Linked DNA regions of Homo sapiens: regions 1, 2, 4, 5, 6 and 7 are each linked to region 3. Evidence: promoter capture Hi-C in 16 types of primary human blood cells and fetal thymus (Javierre and others, 2016). All regions are on one chromosome and are shown on one strand. The core of a region is centred on a gene start or on the middle of the fragment in contact, and the rest is flanking DNA. Distances in the headings are between cores, read along the strand shown.

Evidence for each region. Contacts are between HindIII fragments. The CHiCAGO score rates a contact against its expected background, and 5 or more counts as called.
Region 1: a contact is called between a fragment that was not itself captured here and the fragment with the promoter of CEMIP in region 3, in 1 of 17 cell types (M2 macrophages). The highest score is 5.0, in M2 macrophages.
Region 2: a fragment that was not itself captured here is called in contact with the fragment with the promoter of CEMIP in region 3 in 16 of 17 cell types (M0 macrophages, total CD8 T cells, M1 macrophages and 13 more); the score reaches 21.1 in M0 macrophages.
Region 4: a fragment that was not itself captured here is called in contact with the fragment with the promoter of CEMIP in region 3 in 5 of 17 cell types (M1 macrophages, megakaryocytes, M0 macrophages and 2 more); the score reaches 10.5 in M1 macrophages.
Region 5: a contact is called between a fragment that was not itself captured here and the fragment with the promoter of CEMIP in region 3, in 3 of 17 cell types (M0 macrophages, M1 macrophages and M2 macrophages). The highest score is 6.8, in M0 macrophages.
Region 6: a contact is called between a fragment that was not itself captured here and the fragment with the promoter of CEMIP in region 3, in 5 of 17 cell types (M1 macrophages, M0 macrophages, monocytes and 2 more). The highest score is 9.8, in M1 macrophages.
Region 7: a contact is called between a fragment that was not itself captured here and the fragment with the promoter of CEMIP in region 3, in 2 of 17 cell types (M1 macrophages and endothelial precursors). The highest score is 6.1, in M1 macrophages.

Annotation. Positions count from the first base shown.
Region 1 is chr15:80,399,824-80,403,033 of GRCh38, forward strand. The region is part of intron 2 of ARNT2-DT (ARNT2 divergent transcript); the gene reads right to left. Among named protein-coding and RNA genes, the nearest start is that of ARNT2-DT, 2.8 kb to the right of the region's middle. The HindIII fragment of the contact is 2,199 bases long and covers 209-2,407 here.
Region 2 is chr15:80,457,447-80,460,293 of GRCh38, forward strand. It overlaps ARNT2 (aryl hydrocarbon receptor nuclear translocator 2), which reads left to right. Exons shown (of 19, transcript NM_014862.4): 3 at 483-530. Among named protein-coding and RNA genes, the nearest start is that of ARNT2, 54 kb to the left of the region's middle. The HindIII fragment of the contact is 8,174 bases long and covers 1-2,847 here.
Region 3 is chr15:80,777,630-80,780,637 of GRCh38, forward strand. It overlaps CEMIP (cell migration inducing hyaluronidase 1), which reads left to right and starts at 1,741. Exons shown (of 30, transcript NM_001293298.2): 1 at 1,741-1,985. RefSeq lists a silencer at 1,363-1,642 and an enhancer at 2,263-2,768. The HindIII fragment of the contact is 7,653 bases long and covers 1-3,008 here.
Region 4 is chr15:80,476,533-80,479,423 of GRCh38, forward strand. The region is part of intron 5 of ARNT2 (aryl hydrocarbon receptor nuclear translocator 2); the gene reads left to right. Among named protein-coding and RNA genes, the nearest start is that of ARNT2, 74 kb to the left of the region's middle. The HindIII fragment of the contact is 280 bases long and covers 1,178-1,457 here.
Region 5 is chr15:80,419,039-80,421,826 of GRCh38, forward strand. The region is part of intron 1 of ARNT2 (aryl hydrocarbon receptor nuclear translocator 2); the gene reads left to right. Among named protein-coding and RNA genes, the nearest start is that of ARNT2, 16 kb to the left of the region's middle. The HindIII fragment of the contact is 6,550 bases long and covers 1-2,788 here.
Region 6 is chr15:80,438,956-80,441,955 of GRCh38, forward strand. All of the region lies in intron 1 of ARNT2 (aryl hydrocarbon receptor nuclear translocator 2), which reads left to right. Among named protein-coding and RNA genes, the nearest start is that of ARNT2, 36 kb to the left of the region's middle. The HindIII fragment of the contact is 7,419 bases long and covers 1-3,000 here.
Region 7 is chr15:80,493,048-80,496,124 of GRCh38, forward strand. All of the region lies in intron 5 of ARNT2 (aryl hydrocarbon receptor nuclear translocator 2), which reads left to right. It overlaps LOC124903537 (a long non-coding RNA gene), which reads left to right. Exons shown (of 2, transcript XR_007064731.1): 2 at 1-1,060. Among named protein-coding and RNA genes, the nearest start is that of ARNT2-AS3, 68 kb to the right of the region's middle. The HindIII fragment of the contact is 2,736 bases long and covers 120-2,855 here.

The DNA.
Region 1 (3,210 bases), core at 58-2,557, 380 kb before region 3:
CTTCGATCCCTGCAGAACCACCCTGTGTGTTATCTTCCCCAAGACTCCCACATGGGTGGTGGCCAGAAACCCCTCTGCTTTTGGCTATTCCATCAGCTGCCTTGATATACCTTCCACGGAAACTAGAGCACCTGGGTCTGACTGCCTGTTTCCCCTCCCACCCTCCTTCCTTCCTTCTCTCCACTCTCCATGAAGGTAAAGCACGACAAGCTTCCCCTTCCTATCTCTGTGGGACAGAGACTTGCCATACTTTTCTTCTTCCCTCTGCAATACTATCACAATACATTTTAAAGTCTCTAAAGTGTATACAGCACACACATTACTTCCTTCAATGTCATCTTCACCAAAACTCAGCACAGTAGGTAACATCATCCCCATTTTCCAGGTGAGGAAAGTGAGACTTAGAGAAGTTTCATGAAGTGACAGAGCAAAAACCTACACCACACTTTCGCTTCAAAGGCTGGTGCTTATGCCTTTTTGTATAAAACTAACATCTCATCCACATTTGATCTGTTATAAGTCCATGATTCTTGGTGTAAAGGAGAGACTTGATAGAGAAGAAGGCAGGGGTGGGGGCTGGGGGTAGTGCCTGGACAGACAATCCGTGGGCAGTTGTCACCTGTGTAGAAATAAAGATAAGGAGGTAGCAGTGGGGATAACACAGACCCATGAGCCTTTATCTCCAGCAAAGAGAGAGAGAGAAGTTAGAAAGAATGGAGGAGGAAGGAAGGGTTGAGAGGAGACATATAAATGGAGAGAAAGCCTGTGGTTATATCCATGGCAGCCCTACCATGCCTCTCCTTCTGCAGAAGCCCATGCGTTCATTCCTGGTTTCTTCATATCTTAAAGTGAAGTTAAAAGAACATAAAATTAGCCAGGCATGGTGGCTCACGCCTGTAATCCCAGCATTTTGGGAGGCCGAGGTGGGCGGATCACGAGGTCAGAAGATCAAGACCATCCTGGCCAACATGGTGAAATCCCATCTCTACTAAAAATACAAAAATTAGCTGGGAGTGTTTGGTGGGGGGTGCACCTGTAATCCCAGCTACTTGGGAGGCTGAGGCAGGAGAATTGGTTGAACCAGGGAGTTGGAGGTTGCAGTGAGCTGAGATCACTCCATTGCACTCTAGCCTGGTGACAAAGCGAGACTCCATCTAAAAAAAAAAAAACAAAACAAAAAACAAAAACAAATAAACAAAAAACCGGGTGCAGTGGCTCACGCCTGTAATCCCAGCACTTTGGGAGGCCAAGGCAGATGGATCACCTGAGGTCAGGAGTTTGAGACCAGCCTGACCAACATGGAGAAACCCCGTCTCTACTAAAAATACAAAATTAGCTGGATATGGTGGTGCATGTCTGTAATCCAGCTACTCAGGAGGCTGAGGAAGGAGAATTGCTTGAACCTGGGAGGCAGAGGTTGTGGGGAGCCAGGATTGCACCATTGCACTCCAGCCTGGGCAACAAGAGTGAAACTCCGTCTCAAAAAAAAAAAAAAGATAAAATTGCCTTGGATCATTATATATTATACAATGGAAATCCTTTGTCTCGAGTATTAGGACTTAAAGGGATATGAAGCAGAACTCAGGTGGCTGCTTTCTCCCATCAAGTTAAAAAAAAAAAAAAAGAAGAAAGAAAGAAAGGCTGTGGACCCTGGTACACATTAGCACAGCAGCTGGTCAACTCTGGTCATTTCTAGGAGCGCTGTGCTCAGAATCGTGTGCTATGGGCCCGGTGGATCTGCATTAATCTTTTCAAAAATGCAAATCTCAGCTTCAAATTCAACAGCCTCCTCTGGAATTTCAAAGAGTTCTGGGTTGTTTAAAGGTTGAGTGGAATTCCTGAGCCTGTGTTAACTGGTCACAGTCTACTGACTCTCATAATTAGCGCAAGACCACTGTGTTGTGTAAATGCCACTCAGTATTCAACAATGACTAACCACTCCATTTCAGATTGTTTACTTAAGTGGGGGGCTTTCATCCACAATCAGTGTTTCTGAGCATTTAACCTATTTAATACTGAGAGACGAGAGAGAAGGCGAGTTGCCCATTTCTCTATTTCTTCCCCTACACCCTAACCGCTCCCCAACTCCAGCCACCAAATCCCAGTATTGTGCGTAGCCCAGTTCTAAGTCTTGTCTGGCTATTAAGCTGCATGACGTTGGCTACCCTGAGCCTCAGTTTCCTTATCTGCAAACTCCAGGGGCAGAATTGGATGATGTCGAAGGTCCTTTCTACCTCTGAAATACACTGACTGGGGGAGAAGATGAAATGTCTCCTTTGTGAAAATCTAAACGTATTTATTACGTACCAAAAACCACAGCACGGCCGACTCCAGACTTGGGAAGTGTCTAGCAGTTGTCCACGTGTCGCCTGTCTTTTATTGCAATGGACCAGTGCAAGAAGTAGGAAGCTTGAGCAAGATCCAGTTTTAAAGATATCAGCCGAGTAACATTTAGAAAAATGGGCAGAACACAACAGCAGAGTAAGAAAGTAAAACTTGTCAACAAATTTGTATGGTTAAATGTGTGTGTGCGTAAGAGTCATGTTCACTCATATTTTATTTTTTAGGGATGATATTAGAACTGTATTTGGAGACAAAATGAGCCATGGGTCCTGGCTGAAATGCTAAACTGATACATAAACACCAAGGAGAGGAACTTGCTTCCTTCTAAGGGGTGTGGAAAGTTGGAGAATAAAAGAGCCTCGTGGGATAGGGGGCAGTGATGCCAAGTGCTATTTATGGGCTATTTATGGGCCACCAGAGATTGAACTGCCTGTGGGGAGAAGGATCCAGAAGGGACTCTGGGTAGCAGAAATATCTGAGATGGAGTTTTACCTTTTTTGATGTGGAGTGAGTGAAGAGAGCCTCCTCTTTTACTTTCCTTAAGAAATCTTCAGTCCAGTATACGTTATACATTAATTAAGTTGGTATTTTGAGTGTGTTGCTTTTCGGGGTATGTAGAAGAGAGGCTGAATTCTCATTTGGCTTGATGTTGGAATCAGGAACAGTCAACTTTGATACGGGGCACAAGAGCGGGCCATAGCTGATACCCTGGTTTCTCTGTCTGGGCCTGGCCTATCTTGTGGCTGGGTGCACACCTGCTTTATTTTTTACTTGAAATGTCTTCTTTTTCCACCTGTCCTACTCATGTCTTCAAAGCCTAATTTTCATTTTCCCTGATCACTCCACCTCCTCTCTGCCCTCATTCAT
Region 2 (2,847 bases), core at 59-2,558, 320 kb before region 3:
CCTTCACCCTGAAAACTTCTGTTTTCAAAATCCCGTGAGCCTTTTTAGGCTCTTAATATACCACAAGATAAACTAAGAAAAAAGTCTTAATGTGGAATAGGTGATGCAGAGGGGTGCAGGTATTCCCAAAGATGGTGAGAGAAAAGGAAGAGACACCTTTCCATCATAGCCAGAGCAATCCATTGTCTGCTAAGAGTTCTAAGAAGGGAATGGCATATAGAGTTCTGGAGGGGACTAGTTGATACTTAAATATTCCCAGCCATAGAATTAGTGGTGCTTAGACTGAAGACCTTTCATTTTGCCTCTTCTTGTCTTGAACCCGTTTGATGACTGTGTAGAGATATTGCTTGTAGCACTGCCAAAGGTTGGGATCAATGGATAGCAGTCCTAGTGAATAAAGCTCCTTTTGTTCCAGCAGCTCCTGTTACCAGTTAAAATGTTCTCCTAATAATCAGTGCTCACTTGTGATCTTGACTTTTCAGAATGGACTTCGATGATGAAGATGGTGAAGGCCCCAGTAAATTTTCAAGGTAAGTTTATTTTATTTTCCTTAGACTTAAAGAAGGCAATAGCCAGCATTCACCTTAGAAAGATACAAGAATGTAACGTCTTTTGTCATTGCAAAAGCCATTGCCTGCAGTTTGACTGGTCCCTCACTCTGTGGCAGTATTTGGCCCAGTGGCAGCTAGCTATTAGCGACCCTGCCACATCCCAGCAGAGATGATCAAAAGGTAAGTAATAAGTTATTAACTCTGTTTGCTTTATAAGAAATTAATGTCAATTTTAAGGATTCATTTTAAAAAGACAATAGGGCTTTTTAAAAAGTATTTTTAAAAATTCCTATGTCTTTTAAAAAGGAATCTATTAAAATTAATATTCATTGCTTATAAAGCAAACAGAGGAATTCATTCTTCCTGAAAAGCCCTAGAGTTCAAGTTTAGAAAAAACTGTCAAGATAAGTCTTTTATTGCTACCATGGAAAATAAGAAGAGATATGAGAAACCAGGCAGCTGTGTTCTGGATGCAGGATAGAAAACTGGGTTTTCAGCTCCTAAGAACTGTATTGCCCCCTGGCCACGTGACAGCATCTTTATCTGGGCTCTGCGGGGCCGTCCTGAGTGCAGACCACCTCATGGAAAGTTTGCTGGATCATGAATGTCCATGGGTTATACACATTGCATACGTGAAGGATAAGGCAGGCCCAACCCCATGACTGTGTCTTTTTTTTTTTTCCATTTTGTTTAAGATATGGTAGGAAGTTTGGCAGTGTTGACAGGAAGGCACAAATCATTCCATCATTCTTAGCAAAATTCACATCTGTACCCACTTACCTAAGGAAGGGCCTGCCTTGACATTCCTCTCCACTAGCCAAGCCTCCAAGCCTTCCTAATTCTTGGTCATTGATGGACTTGAAAACTTGCCATGGGTGACGGTTGCTTTTCTTCTGTATCCATGCTCCATAGTTTGGACTGATGGCCTCAGTTGTTTTTGGAGGAACCACATGCATATTGAGTTCTGGGCCCCCTGAGTTACCCTAGTTTTCTCCCCTCATGGTAGCCATTTTTGGTGATGATTCCTTTTACAAACTGCATTGCGATTGTGAGTTCCACACACTTTTCCACCAGTCCAACAGGGACATGCATCTCCTTACTTCCCAGGGATTCCCAGAGTCTCCAAGTCCATAGTAAACTCGCATCATGCCATACACTTTCGTCCCCAAAATCTTTTCCTTCCGTCTTTCAGCTTCTGCTTTGGTTGAAACAGTAGAGAGGAGATGGAGAACATTTTGGTCACTAATGACCTTGGAGTTTCGAATCAAAACAGGACATGAGTTTCAATAACAAAAGCATGTATTGTTTTCCCTCGGTGCAGACAGAATGGCAGCTTGGACATCCACCCATTTCTTGGGATACACTTTAATAGCAGGGTGTGCTTTCTTGCTGAAATGGAAACAAGGGCACATATCTCCCTGCCCCAGTTTGCTCTCGCTGTACACAGCCTCCCTCTATGAAGGAACAATGACTTTGGTTCCTCCGTGTCAAAATTCCCCTTGAGATAACATTCCATAGCATGCTAACCTTAGGAAATGATGATTCCTGGGGCCTCAAAACATAAAGAGGAAGAGAGATGAGGAGTGACGTTTGTTTGACATTGAAAAGATCAGTGTCAGTGATGAAATAATAGTGCAGGGGTACAAAGAGCTCATTGTATTAGGCCCGATCATTAAGAAACAGAAACTCTACACTCTGGGTAACTATCTCATGACCGTGTCTGTGAGTCCGTTTTTATACAGTCAAGGTTCAAACCCAGGCATCTGTGAACCATATCATTTCCCCCATGAAAAATAAGGAAGATAGGATGTGTTTCCAGCATATGCTGTTACTAATAGGAATGAGTTTGTAGGACCGCAGAGGCCCAGAGGTCACCTAGGCTTAGCTGCTGGGCCCTCAGTGAATGGGCCCATGGTTGCATCTGAGCTTCTCAGCACTGGGAGAGACGACTGAGTCCACCCTCATCCCTCCACTTTGCAGTGACTGTGGCTGCTGTCCAGGGGAGGAGTGGAGAATCTGCTTCCAATTGGCATGGAACACCCCAGTGCCTCTCCTGTTGGCTTTTTCTCTTCTTACAATCAGGCAACAGAAGCCCCTTCATGTGAGGCCCTGGAAGAGATAGAGGCTGCCTTGTGAGCCAGCACCCACCGTAGTTTGCTGACTCAGAATCTAGGCAGGGTGCTGTGCCATGGTTTCTGTCTCCTGTGTGTGTGCCATCAGCTTTTCCAGCTTTTTGCAAGGGGGCTTCCCAGTTTAAATGTCCTGCCTATCATGAGACCTCATGTCTCAATTTTTG
Region 3 (3,008 bases), core at 491-2,990:
GCTACCTGGCTCCACTCAGGCCTCAAATCTACTGTCTGTTGATGGAAAATCCTGCATGTCGTGCCAAGCCAGGCTGATTCAAGGTCGACCTTTCTCCATTTGGGCCAAATGCCCAGCACCCCCAAACCCCTAACACACAACTCTTTGTGGGTCTGGTTTCTGGGAGCTCCTTAAGGAAGAAAAACATAAACAGGAATCATGGTGAGGACTGGGGAGAGGGGCCCTGGGTCGGGGGGGCTCCATTTTATTCGGCTGGAAAGAAAAGGTTGGGGAGGAGGGCTTGCCATTGGATCCAGTTCATTACTTCCCAATAAATCAAAGAAGGGCTGAGAATCCTGACCACCACCCCCAGTAAGGATCAAGTTCCGCTTTCTGGAAGAGGCCTAGAGGTGGATTGCAGGACTTCCCAGTTTAACCAGGTGACAAAGGCTTCTGCTTCAGCCCAGATGTGATCACAGACTTCCACAGCTTCTGCCGACCACAGCCTGGCCTTAAAGTCCAGACCTAGAGTCCCGGAGCTAGTGTGTACTACACAGAATGGAGACCTTGCCTGAGGAGCTGGTTCTCAGAGAACACTGGCAGGAAGGAAGAAAGAAATGTATATTCTAGGAGGCCTCTGCTAACCAGGAAAGGGGGCTGAGTCACACTCTGAAAGGTGGAAGAGGCAGAGAGCAGGTATCAACGCCCTCATTTTACAGATTAAAACAAAACAAGAAAAACAAACACTCCTCACCTCCCTGCAAAAAAACCACCCTGAGGCTCAGACAGGGGAAGTAGCTGGCCCTGGTCACACAGTAGGTTAGCGGCAGAGTTGAGAGGAGACTCCATATGCCCTAGGGATGTGTTGTGATGAACTTTTCCTACTGGTACTGTTTCCTCCCGCGAGGGAATGTCTAGACCAGCCGCACCTTCTTGCTTTGACCCTTCAGAACTTTGGCCTGTCCAGTTAAAGAGGCACAGAGCCCTCCTACCCACAGGGAATGTTTCTAACTTACCAAGCACCTATTATGTGCTTAGAACTTGGACTTTCCTGATCTCATTTAAGCCTCACCATTCTAGTGAGGAAGCATCACAGAACCCATTTTCCTGATGAGGAAACTGAGACTGGGAGGGGTTAAGATCCTGTACACAGTTGTAACTGGCATGTCTGAATCCAGTTTCAAACCAAGGTGCCTTTCAGTGAACACCCAAGCATCTTCCTCTCGGATTAACTGCTAGGCCAATACCAAAATCTCTTTCTCGGGCTACTCTTTTGCTGCTGAGTTAAAAAGAGATCCTGAGACTTAGCCTGGGACCCCGACTCGCGGCGATTCTGTGGCAGGCGCAGACCTTTTCTCCTGTCCTCCACTGCCTCTTTGCCTCGGAGGGCGCCCCGGGGCGCGAGCGGGGCACGGGCGACCCTGGCTCCTTGGAGGCCCGGGGACTTGCTCTCCGCGGTCCGCCGCGGCCGCTCCACCGAGTCCTGGCCTCCAGCGCCCTCACCTGGCTGCTGCGGGCGGGACTCTGCGCACCCGGGCTCCGCGGGCTCAGGTCTGCGTCTCCCAGAGCCGCCGCCAGAGCCCGCCCCGGTCCGGCCCGGGCACAGGGCCCCCGCCCCACTTGGGCAAGGCGGGGGCGCGTGGAGGGAAGTTTCATCGGGGGGCGAGGGAGGGAGCTTCGGTGCCGCGCGGGCGTCAGGGGCTCCTCGGGGGAGGAGTCAGTAAAAGTGGCTATAAAAGCGGCCTCTCGGCTGAGGGCCGGGGAGCTAGCGCTCAAGCAGAGCCCAGCGCGGTGCTATCGGACAGAGCCTGGCGAGCGCAAGCGGCGCGGGGAGCCAGCGGGGCTGAGCGCGGCCAGGGTCTGAACCCAGATTTCCCAGACTAGCTACCACTCCGCTTGCCCACGCCCCGGGAGCTCGCGGCGCCTGGCGGTCAGCGACCAGACGTCCGGGGCCGCTGCGCTCCTGGCCCGCGAGGCGTGACACTGTCTCGGCTACAGACCCAGAGGTAAGAGGGCCTGGCTGGGGGCGTCAGGGATGAGCTGACGGCCCATGCCACGGAAGAGAGGTAAGAAGTGGGGGCCCGCGCCTCCACCCGGCACAGGGTAAACGTTACCCGCCTCAGTTTCTGTTTGTCTGTCCACCCTGTGCTGTGCAGTCTACCTCTATCTGTCTGTTTGTCCATGCGTCTGTTGATGGGCACACGCTCTTGGCACTGTCCTCTGTGGGATTTCTCTGAGATCTTGTGATGCTTTACAAGCTGCAGGTGCCGGGGGGCGCTGGAGTCCCCAGAGGGCATCCAGAGGGGGCAGACTCCTGCTTTCCGTAGATTTTCCCCCTTCTGAATGGCACCGGGGGCTTGCGCCCGGGAGAGTGTCTCGCCGAGGAGGGAGTACCACAAGGGTCAGGTCTCGGTGTCCTGCCGACTGGGAGCCAGCTCACGCCGAGCTCTAGCGGGCGTGCGCCTAGCAACAGGTCTGCGCCCTGCTGCTCCTGCCTCAGCACGCTCTTCCTCCCAGTTTCCCTCGCCTCCCAGTGCCTCCGGGACAGCGCTAGGCACCCAGCGACGCGCTGGCGCGGGGCCGAGCTGAGGCAATTGCAATGTTAGATGAACCCGGGGGGCTCTGCTGATGTTTAGACTGAGACTCCAAACGTGGCATCGCTGGAAGAAGGTCTGGTGGTCCCTGGCAAAGGACGTCGGCTCCAAGAAAGGTCGCGTTAGGTTGTGAGGAAAGGCAGAGAGTCCTGGCAGAACGCTGGCCAGGTCTCCAGCTCGCCGCTCTGGGAACGAAGGCCAGTGACATTCTGGAATGGACCCCAAGGGATGCGTGTGCTCATGAGAGAGGAGCGCTGTGCGCCCTGGGTCCTCAGCCGCAGACACTCTCTGCGACAGCCGCTGTTCCCCAAGGGTCGGACGCTACGGCAGTCCCAGGAGTTCCGCCAGCTGCCGGGTTTGAGGTCCTGAGTCCTTCTCCAAGCAGCCAACGCTACCCACAGGTGAGAGCTCCCTTTAAAAACTAATCTTCTGATG
Region 4 (2,891 bases), core at 68-2,567, 300 kb before region 3:
ATTCTCCCTGACCATATTGTGAGCTGTTGTATTCCCACTTGCTTTTGTGTCTGCCCACAGTGCTAAACTCAGTGCTTTGCCCATAGTAGGCCTTCAGCAGAAGCCTGATGAATTAGTGAGTGTGTTGTTTATTGTGGTCAGCCTAGGATGCCATAACAAAATACCACAGAATGGGTTACTTAAATAACAGAAATGTATTTTCTCATAGTTCTGGAGGCTGGGCATTCAGTGTCCTAATCCATTTGGGCTGCTATAACAAAATACAATAAACCGAATAGCTTTTATGTAACAGAAATTCATTTCTCACTGATATGGTTTAGATCTGTGTCCTCACCCAAATGTCATGTTCAATTGTAATTCCCAATGTTGGGGGCAGGCCCTGATGGGAGGTGATTGGATCATGGGGGTGGGTTCGCCTGAATGGTTTAGTACCATCCTCTTGGTCCTGCTCTCGTGATAGTGAGTGAGTTCTCACAAGATCTGGTTGTGTGTAGTACCTTCCCACTCTCTCTCTTAAGAGTTCCTGCTTCTGCCATGTAAGACACCTGCTTCCCTTCACCTTCCGCCATGATTGTAAGTTTCCTGAGGCCTCCTCAGAGGCCAAGCAGATATCAGCATCATGCTTTTTGTACAGCCTGCAGAATGGTGAGCCAATTAAACCTCTTTTCTTTGTGAATTACCCAGTCTCAGGTATTTGTTTATACAATGGGAGAACAGACTAATACAGTCAGAGTTCTAGAGGCTGGGAAGTCCAAGATCAAGGCACCTTGATGTCTGGCAAGGGCCTACTTTCTAGATGTTGCCTTCTAGCTGTGTCCTCACATGGTGGAAGGGACTAGCTATCTATCTGGGATCTGTTTTATAACAGTACCTAATCACCTCCTAAAGGCCCCATGTCCTAATATCATCATCTGGGAGATTAGAATTTCAGCGTACGAATTTGGGGAGAGCGTAAGCATTTAGTCCATTGCATTCAAGATCAGTATATCATCAGGTTTGTTGTCCCCTAAGGCCCTTCTCCTTGATTTGGAGATGGCCACCTTCTTGCATTCTCACAAGAATTATAACCAGCCTAAGTGTAGGTCTCTCCTCTGTGTGCACGAATCTTTTGTGTCTCTGCCTCTTCTTATGAGGACACCAGTCACTAAATTAGGGCTCACCCATATGATCTCATTTAAGCTTAACAATCTCTTTAAAAGTCCTGTCTCCCAAATACAGTCACATTCTGGGGTACTGGGGATTAAGACTTTAACATACTAATTTTAGCGGGGAACACAATTCCACCTATAATAACACTTATGATAAGAGTGAGTTTGATGTTGCTAAAAGTGAGAAGTGTACAGCTGTTTTGGAAGGATATTAGTAATTTTCTCAGTGCTGGTGATCAAAGATGTAAAAAAGGAGGAAGAGGATAGAGAATTAAGGTGTAAAGACAGTGTCTTTTTCTCCTGGCAGTAAGCTTTGATGTTCTTGTAAAACAGCGATGCTGAAATAGGCTCAGAAAGACTCTTTCTGCTACCCCATTCTCCTGCCTGAATTAGCAAACTCCATATAGAAATCCTAAGGGACACACCTTATAAAGTTAAATATTTGGGAGGAATGTAAAAGGGGAAAACCAACCAACCAGGAAATGTTGGTTTGACAGCTGAAATCACCTTCTCTGGAAAGTGCTGTCTTTCCCAGACTTCTATATGTGACCACAGGATGTGGCTTTTGGAAACCCAGTCTGGAGACCCAGCTGGGGAAGCTGCCAGGGAAGCGATGGTCAAGGCAGGTCAGGCTCTGGCCAAGGGTGTAGCCAGCTGGTTCATCATAGTTGGGTGGACATTTCTGTCCATGTGAAGTCTGAATGTGTCTGGGAGAGTTTAAACAGGCGATGTGAACCACATTTGGACAGAAATGTCCTCGGAGTGGACACTGGACTGTGGCCAAGGCAGCCAGAACCAGTACAGTGGAGGGTGTCCTCCAAGATGCCAGAGAAGGCCCTGTGAAAGGTGAAGAGCCAGGTCTCTGAGTTTGCCTATGGGCCAAGCCCGTCTTGTCAGGAACAAGATGAGGCTGGAGAAGTGGGTTCTTATTCTTAGGGTGGAAGAGAGGACAGGGTCTCTTTTGCAGTCATAGGGTGTGATGCGACTTTCCTAGAACATGCAACAAGCTCTTATTGATTCCGTGGGGGAGAGCTTGGAAGAGCTCTCTGAAACTGGGCTGCTACTCAGACAGGCCTTAGGGTTTTCCTGGTGCTCAGGACAGGACTGGAGTGGGTTTCATATGTAACCAGCCCAAGCATAATTTTAAAATTGTATTAAAAGGCCTCAGGTGTGGTTTAATGCCTTCAATTATTGGACTAGAGTCTCTCAAACCCTCCTGTCCCTTGACTCATGTGGTTTTAGGCCTGGAAAGAGGTGACATGGTCCACTTTGGGAGAGTCAGGGTGGAAGGGTGTTGAGGCGAGGCAGGGAGCCAGGCAAGGCCTGCTGGAGTGGAGGTGGCTTAACTAGGGCAGCCTGACCTCCTTTCCCAGTGGAGTTTCCCTCCTCTGAGCCTCTCTCAGTGGTGATTCAATGTCTCATTCGTTGGACCTGCAGGGTCACCTGTACTGAATGTGTGGAGGTTTGCATGTGCACAGGGGAGGGGACAAGAAACCTGACTTCACTGGGGCCTGCAGACTCCCATGTTGGCTCAGGGACCCCAGAAAATCAATATGCTGTCAAAGAGTTTCAGCATCTGGGGTGAGGGTGATGGTGGAGTTCTTTGTTGAATTAAATTTTTTCCTAGCTGGAGAGGTGGTGACAAAGAGTGGGTGAAAGGTTATATACAGTCTCCTTAGAAACATCATGGAGTGATGTGACTTGTCATGATCTGACTTGTCTGCGAATAAAACTGGAATTTAT
Region 5 (2,788 bases), core at 163-2,662, 360 kb before region 3:
CCAGCACTGGAAACAAACCATTTTCTAGAACGCAGGATCTGTTAGGTCTGTCTGCCACTAGATGGCGTGGTCAAATAGGTACCTCAGTGATTTGCAAACTTGACCCAGGGATCACCAGGAGGGCTTGTAAAAACACAAAGTGCTGCCCCATCTCAGTTTTGGAGTCAGTCGTTCAGGGGTGGGAGTGGGCTGGGGTGAGATCGGCATTTCTAACAAGTTCCAGTGATGCTGGTACTGCTGGCCCAGATCCCCTTCAGGTCCACTGAGGCAGGGGCTGCACTAAGCCAGTACTATCCAATGCCAGCTAACTCACCTGGTTCAGGATGGCTGGGCTCAATCGCCCATTTCACAGGTGAGGAAATAAAGGTGGTCGAACTGAGCCTTGAAAGGCTGATCCTAACACACGGATTTGCCTGATCCCAAGTGTACCTTCTTTCCACTGTCACACTGGCTTTCCCTGGGTGATCTGGAGGGAGAAGGGAAGATAATTAATGAGTGGACTGTGCTGAAGAGAAATGAACCAGAGGTGTTAACTAGGCATCCAGCAGCGTGAGAGGGTAGGAAGAGGAATCAGTGGCCCAGTCCTGGCATTGACATGGCATGGTGCCCTGGGACACCCCTACCTTTTCTCTTTGGGCTTTTGGTTTTCTTATCTATAACGTGAATGGTTGGCATGAAAGCACCTCTCATGTGGCAGGGTCCTGGAAAGTCCCGGGAGAAAAAGCTGAACAGACACCATGCCGGTTCTTAGGGAATTTCCATGGTATTTGGAAGATAAACACAAATGGTTTTCCTGTGCCTGGCAGCAGGTCAGCCTTAAACAGCAGGGCATAGTTTGCTTTGGAACGCAGTGTAAGGCTCTCACCAGAGGGTCTTAGGATAAGGGGTGGAGCCTGAAGAGCCTTGGAGGAGATGGTGGTGGGCTCCGTCTGAGTTGGGGAGCCTGGGGCAATGGGAGGATAGGCTGCCAATGGTCACAGCACCCGCACCTCCCTATGCAACCAGCCATCCACGTATGTCTTTGAGCCTCTCTCCACATTTTATCATCTCACACCAGAACCCACATTCTGGATCTGTCTTTTAACTCCTCTTCTATCAGCCCCTCTTTTTAGTTTAAAAAAAAGACCCTATGAACATATGAATATATGTATTGACTATACAGATGGTCCCCAGCTTACAAGGGTTTCACTTAAGATTTTTGACTTTATGATGGTTACAAAGTGATATGCATTCAGTAGAAACTGTACTTCAAATTCTGAATTTTGATCTTTTCCTGGACTATTGATATTTGGTACAGTACTCTCCCAAGATGCCAGGCCAGATCATGTGACACAAAGCCTATTTTATAATGAAGTGTTTAGTGTCTCATGTAATTTATTGGATATATACTGAAAGTGTTCTGAGCATGTTTAAGGTAGGCTAAGCTAGGGTGTTTGGTAGGTTAGGTGTATTAAATGCATTTTTGACTGAAGATATTTTCAATTTACGATGGGTTTATTGAAATGTAACCCCATCAGAAGTGGAGAGCATCTGTATGAATATATATATTATGAACATATGAATATATATATTATGAACATATGAATATATATTATGGACATATAAAAAGAATTATATGTGAATATATATTTTTATTAGAATGAATATATATATTGGAATGAATGAATTAGAATGAATATATATGTACATATGTTCATTCCAATAAAAGTGGCTTACTACCTGCCTTAGAAGAGTTAGTGAGATGAGATGGTAAGAACGTAATCACTCCTGGGATGGTTGACCTTGGGTAACTGAAAGCACGGACCTTGGGTAACTGAAAGTGAAAGATAACAAGGGACTACTGCAAAAGGTTTGGCAGTTACTGAGTATCTACCCAAAGGCAAAAGAAGTCATTATGTCAAAACAGCACATGCACACATGTTTATTACAGCACAATTCACAATTGCAAAGATAGGGAACCAACCTAAGTACCTGTCAACTGATGAGTGGATAAAGAAAATTTGGTATATATACACCATGGAATACTACTCAGCCATAAAAAATAACAAAATAATGCCTTTTGGAGCAACTTGGATGGAGCTGGAGGCCATTATTCTAAGTGAAGTAACTCAGGAATGGAAAACCAAATACCTTATGTTCTCACTTAGAAGCGAGAGCTAAGCTATGGATGTGCAGGGGCATACAGGGTAGTATAATGGACATTGGAGACTCAGAAGGGTGGAGGGAGTGACGGCTAAAAAACTATATATTGAGTACAATGCACACTACTTGGGCAACAAGTACACTAAAATTTCGGCCTTCACTATACAATTCATCCATGTATCCAAAAACCAGTTGTACCCCTAAAGCTATTGAAATAGAAAGAAAAGAAAGGAAGGAAAGGAGGGAGGGAGGGAGGGAGGGAAAGAAAGAAGGAAGGAAGGAAAGCTGTCATCACAATATTAAAATCAATAAAAATAAATGTTAAAAAGTACTTAATGGTACAAAGAAAGTCATTTTTAACCTATAGTTCACTAGTTTTGAAACAATGCACCGAATGACATTGTATAGGTTATATGAATTGTCTGATGGTAGCTGAGTGCAAACTCCATCTTATTGCTGTATTTTCTCCATCAAATTAAACCCAACTTATTTCTTCCAGCTTGGCTGTTTAAACATTCAGTCTCATCATTTGTTTTGAGGAAGGTGCACCTTTTTCCTAGGGTATTTACGACACCTTGGGCCTTATGCAGCTCAGGAAAATTAGAAGCTAATCTCTGATCTTCTTTTAATTGTGGTTCCTAGTGAG
Region 6 (3,000 bases), core at 365-2,864, 340 kb before region 3:
TGTCTCTTAATATTTGTATTATTTCCTCACTTCCTATTAAATGTAACTATTTGTTAAAGTTCTTGATAATTGATTTGCACACAAATTTTGCATATAAAATTAATAGCTTTTACCATATGGTCAAAGATTACTGCACATTTCATTCTTGCAATAATATTTATATTTATACACCATCTGACTGGGAGAGTTCAAAATACATCATACATACAAGGAGCTTTTTAATCTGAGTACATCTAGAATGCAGATTTACATTTGAAAGTGAACATGCGGACTTGAGCAATAAGTTCATGTGGCATGGCTTATTTGTAGTATTGATGTTGTTATGCTGTAGACGTAGAGATGGTGGTGACCTGAGTATCGTAAGGCCATTGATCATGCACAAGTTCAGGGATGCCAGAAATGATCTTGCAATAGGTATTTGACTGTTTGTCCTTTCAAAGGCCAAGGCATTCATTTAGAAGCCATGGCCAAATAATAGGTTTTGGGCAAATAGTGTAGCTGAAGCTGAACTTTGATGGGTCCCTGATAAATATGTTTGCATATATGATTCTGTATCCTGCTCCATTAACTTACTCTTAGCATTTTCCTATAACATTATCTTTGAAATCATGATATTTAAAGGTTAAGTAATTTTTATCTGGGAGTATTCCATAAGTTATGAGCTTTTCTCTTTATGTCAGACTTGTTAGTTCATTTGGTTTCTGTTCAACTTCCAACTGCCTTTGGACAGTCAACATGCATCTTGGTCATTCATTTCTTTCCCCTACCTTTCATATCCTCAGCCACTGTGAAGAGGTCTCTGCAGTCATTGAGAACTGGCCTCTTCCCTTTTATACAGGAAGGTCCCTCAGGTATCTGAAGACAGTTTTATCCCTCCTTCTGCCTCAAGGACTCTCCAGGCCAACAAGTTGTGTCTCACTAGCAGGTCCTCCTCAGTGAACCCTTCACCATCCCATGGTTCTTTCTCGTATTTTTGAATGTGGAGAATCAGAGCTTTGAACCCTCCTGTGTACTCTTCCACCAGCAACCCATGCCTTGCACTTTCTCCTTCAGGGTCTGTCTTACTGCACAGGGCTCCTGATTCCCTAGACTCAGGTCTTGGTAGGCCAGAGTCTAGGTTTTGGCTGAGACTCCTTCTAAGACCTCATTAGGGACATTCAGTTCACTGACGGACACCAATCCTTCCAACCTAGATGTTCTGGGCTGGCTTCTGTGTGATTGATGACACACACTTTCTTCTGATGGTCTGCGGCTTCTAGGTTTGACTCAAGCATGAGACAAGTCATGGGTGGATGTCTCATTGCAGTTAGACCTGTGGGGTCATCTCGCACAGAGTGGGGCAGGTTGAATGGGTCACTCATCCTTGTTGTCTTGCTCCAGAATCATATCCTTGACAGCAGCCTCTCCACTTTTCTTCCATTGGAATTACTGGTTACCCATCTTCTTGCTGGGTCTGTTTTATTTTTACTCCTTTTACAAATTTCAGCACAGAGATTACAGGACTTCAGCCCACAGGGTGGAGAAGGAAGCTGGAGTTAGTGGGTTCGGACACTAGTGGGAACATGGGGAGTGACACCATAGTGTGCTGTAGTGCAGTGCCCCTGTTCCAGAGGAGAGCCAGAGCTCTACCTGAGCCAGCACTGTTAGCTGAGGTGGGAGGGCATCTCCCCGGGCTGCCTTGGGACTGGTTTCAATTCCCTAATGCCAAAACCTGCCTGCCTACTAGAAGGGGCTCAGGCAGGCATCCAGGGCTCGGTATCCAGGCTGGAAGCACCAGCCAGAGGAGACAGGACCTGGCCTCTTCTTGCTTTCCCAGGTCCAGTGGCCATCCTCTTCTCTATTGCAGAGACCTTGGCCCAGCCTGCTGATCAGAAAAGAATGTCTTACAGAGGATCTCACGGCTGGTTAAAGCCGAGCATGGATCTGCAGTCAGAGTTCTCTGATTCTCAGTCTAATGATTTTCTGTACATTGTGCTATAAAAATGCTACCCCATGGAGGCCCTTTGGGAATCATGTGCCCTGTCTTCATTCCAGAAGTAAGAGGGACCCTCCCTTGCTTGGACTTCAAGAAAAATCCTTTATTATCTCTCACTAAAATGTTTGGATAAGAATCTAGATTTTTCAAATATGCATTTGTTATGGTTTCATAGGAAATCCAAGTAACCGATTTTTCAGAACCTAAGCAGTTAATGCTAGAAATTTTGCTGCAAATAAATTGATCAGTATGCAAGACAGTTGTCACGGCTGAATCATGGTCCACAGTTAAGGTAAACAGATCTGTGATGACATTTTCTCAGCAGAATACAAATGCAGCTACATTTCCTCCCAGAGGTTTCTGACATTTCTTCTACACGGATAACAGATTCTCCTAAGAAGGTGTTGGTCACAAGGAAGAAAGATCTTTGTTTAATCCCTCTGAAAAGGTAGGGCTGTGATATTTGATGTGCTTTCTGTGAAGAGAATTGTTCTAAGAGAGATGAATATTGAGAAGAGCGTTTTTCTTTGGTTAGTTGCCTGCCCTCACCCCCCTCCCAGCCATGGAAAGAGCCTTTTGGTTTTTCATTTATTTGAATGGCCATTAAAATATTGTGTGTTGTCATGTTGTGAAAGTTTGCATGTAATTGATTTTTTCCCAATGTAAAGATCAGGGGATATTTTTCTTACTTGGATTCACATGAAATGTAGGGAGAGCAAGATGTCTTTTTTTCCATTTCCTCCTGTTCCTTTCATCTGTAATGCTCTCAAGTTCCACGTTTTTTCCAGGTTTTCGCTGCCTACACTGTATTATAGGAATTCTACACAGTACGTCTGCATCTGAAATGTGAAATAGTCTGTAGCTAGATGCTGCATTATAAGCCAGATATGTTTTCTGTGTTACGGTGAACCTTACAAAATCTTTAGCTTGTACTGATTTTTAAATGAGCTCCAAACCTCATTCCAACTTTGCCTAAGAGCAGACAGTCATTTCCCCTCTGTGTGTAATGGGAAACAATTTCCTGA
Region 7 (3,077 bases), core at 238-2,737, 280 kb before region 3:
CCATGGTTCTGACATCTGGCAGGGGCCCTCGTGCTGTGTCATCCCATGGTGGAAGGCAAAAGACTGAGAGAGCAAAAGCAAGAGAGAACGAGACAGAGAGCGGAAAGCAAGAAGGGCCAAGCTTGCTTTTATAACAAACCCATCCCTACAATCATGACATTAAACTATTCATGAGGGCTCTGCCCTCCTGAGGCCTTATGACTTGATCACCTCTTAAAGGTCTTACCTCACAACACTCTTGCATTGGGGATTAAGTTTCCAATACATGAGCTTTGGAGGACACATTCAAACCACAGCAAGTGGCGGGGGGTGGGGGTGGGGGATTTGTTCTGATTTTTCCTGAATTGTGTACAGCTATCTGGGAGCTGCAGCCGAGGCAGCCCTGTACCTTGGTCACCATTACCTGAAGTTAGTAGGGCCATGCCCACTCCTTTACATGAAATGCTGCCTCTCAGAAGCAGGCTGTGGCAGCTTTTCTTCCTCTTTATGTGGCAGGTTGTTTGCTTTAAGTCAGGGTGATATGAGGGGGCTCTGCCTCTGGCCTCACTGTGATTATACCCTAGGTCACTTGTCTTCTGCTTCCTGATTTCCTGTTCTCTCTCTCCTGCTTGGAGTTTGGAAACTTCTAGTAGGGAACTCTTTCACTTTCTTCCCAGGCAGTTTGTTTCCTCATATTGGTTGAACCATGATGATATAGTTGGAATGGTTGTCCCCTCCAAATCTCATGTTGAAATTTGATCCCTAATGTTGGAGATGGGGCCTGGTGGGAGATATTCGGATCATGAGGGCAGATCCCTCACTAATGGCCTGGTGCCCTCCCTGTGGAAATGAGTAAGTTCTCACTCTTTTGGTTCACCTGAGAGCTGTTTGTTTAAAAGAGCATGGCACCCCTCCTTCTCTCTCTGTCTTGCTCCTTTTCTTGCCATGTGACACTCCTGCTCCCTCTTTGCTTCTGCCATGATGCTTCCTGGAGTCCTCACCAGAAGCAGATGCTGGCACCATGCTTCTTATACAGCTTGCAGAACCATGAACCCAATAAACTTCTTTTCTTTGCAAATTACTCAGCCTCGGGTGTTCCTTTATAGCAACACAAAATGAACTAAGACACATGAGCTGCTCATACTCATTTCCAGACCATCCCAGGTGTGCTGTGCTGTTTTTTGCAGAAATATTTCAATATCTCTCTATTTTAAGGCCCCTTTTACTGTTTTTCTTCATGAATGCAGATTTTTCCTGCTATTTTTGTATTTTTAAAATCATTTCATTAGCAAACTGCGAAGGAGGGAAGGCACGACTTGAAATTGCCTTCTTGAACTCCATGTCAGCCTGGTCTCCTGGCATATACTGGGCTGCCTTTCCACAGCCAAGGAGGGTTAATCATTTACCGTTAAAATTAAACCCCTCAGGCTTGCATTTCTGGCATTTTTGTAGCATGATACCCCAAGAGGAATGTATTTCTTTAAATCACACTTCAGCATATTCTAAACAGGATGAAGAATTTGTACTTTTGTCTACAGATTAAATAGCAGAAGAGGTGCCGGCCATGGGAGGACTGTGGGGTGATGATTTTATAATGAATAGCAGAGCAGCAGGCCACAGCAGGCGGTGGCCCATGATCCCACATCATGTTGAGAATGTGAATGCAGAAAAAGCTGTGAAGTTCTCAGGCTTTTCAGAGAGCCACGAGAGCCCAGTTGTCGAGGTGGGAGAGGTGGTATGGCCTGCCATTCATGTTGGAGTTCTCTGCCCGTTGGTATGGACTGACCCCAAATGTGCCAGTCTTGGTCTTTTCATTGCTCATGAGATGATGATCTCTTGGATATTCTCTGCAGAGTTTTGCTGCCCTCCTTGTGCCATCCTGCTGCCTGCTCCTTGCCTAGTTAGTCTCATTAGCACCTTCCCCAGATGGTACAGTAGAGGGACAAAGGGATTGACATGCAAACAGACTGCTTGGCGGAAAGGCTCTTCTGAGTGTCTGCAGGGCCTATTAGTCGCAATGCTAAGTCCCTTTTGCCAGACCTAATCAGGCACCCCCACCCCTGTAAGCCTTTTTTTTGTCTCCTTATTCCATGGCCACTGATTCTAATCTGAGTTCTAACCCAAACCCCAGCCGCCATCTTCCTTGCTCAGGAACGCAAGAGGGCCCAGAGGGGGATGGTTCCCAAAAGCCTATTCTTACTATCTGAAAACAGTTTCCCTCTGTGGGTCAGCAGGAGCCCATTCTGCTCAGTGAACATTATTGTTGCTGCCAACTCTTCATTCTTCCCAGTACACTCTTTGTGTACACAGGAGCTCTCCCGACATGGCTGGACACTCAGGTTCCAAGTTGAGGTGTCTCTCTTTTCCTGAATGTTGGATATGAATGCTAATCTTACAGGTTTTTTGCTCCTAAAATCTAAATTATTGATATTCGTATATTTAAACTGCAAATCATATGAATTTTCCTAGGCAGTTCCGGGAGGTAGAAGTTTTGCTTTTAGAAGGGAATGTGGCCTTTGCAAAGCATGCTCAATATTCATTGCCAACAGCATGAAGGGCTGGAGGGTTTGTCAGAAGCATGTTTCTCAAGTCTCTGGCTTTTCTGCCTGTGTGACAGATAGCAGAATCATTTTGAGAGCTTGACTCCTCTGTTTGCTTTTGCTCATGCCTTCCTAGGGCTCTGTGCCCTGGGGTTGGGCCCCAGCCCACCTCTCCAGCCCCTCTCCCTGTGGAGCTCCAGCCAAACAGGACTTTGTACTATTCTCAGACCCCTCCTTCCACTTTCCCCACACCTTGCTCTGAGCCCTTTACTTGGGGCATCCTATCCCTTGCAGCTCCATCTCTCTGAGGCTCCTTTAGCACCTCCTCTGGGAGGAAGCTTTCCCTGACCCAGTCTGCTCTCTCCAACATGAAGCACTCTCTCTGTCTGCTCTGTGCTGCCTTTGCATTTTGTGCAGACATCTCCTCGAGTACCAGCTGAGTTGGTTTCATCGTTAAGTAGGAATGGTGTCTTGCTTCCCCTACTCTGTGAGCCACTTTGCTTAGTACTGCAGCTTGCACTTTGTAATTTCTGTTGGATGGAGTCAGTTTATAGATTC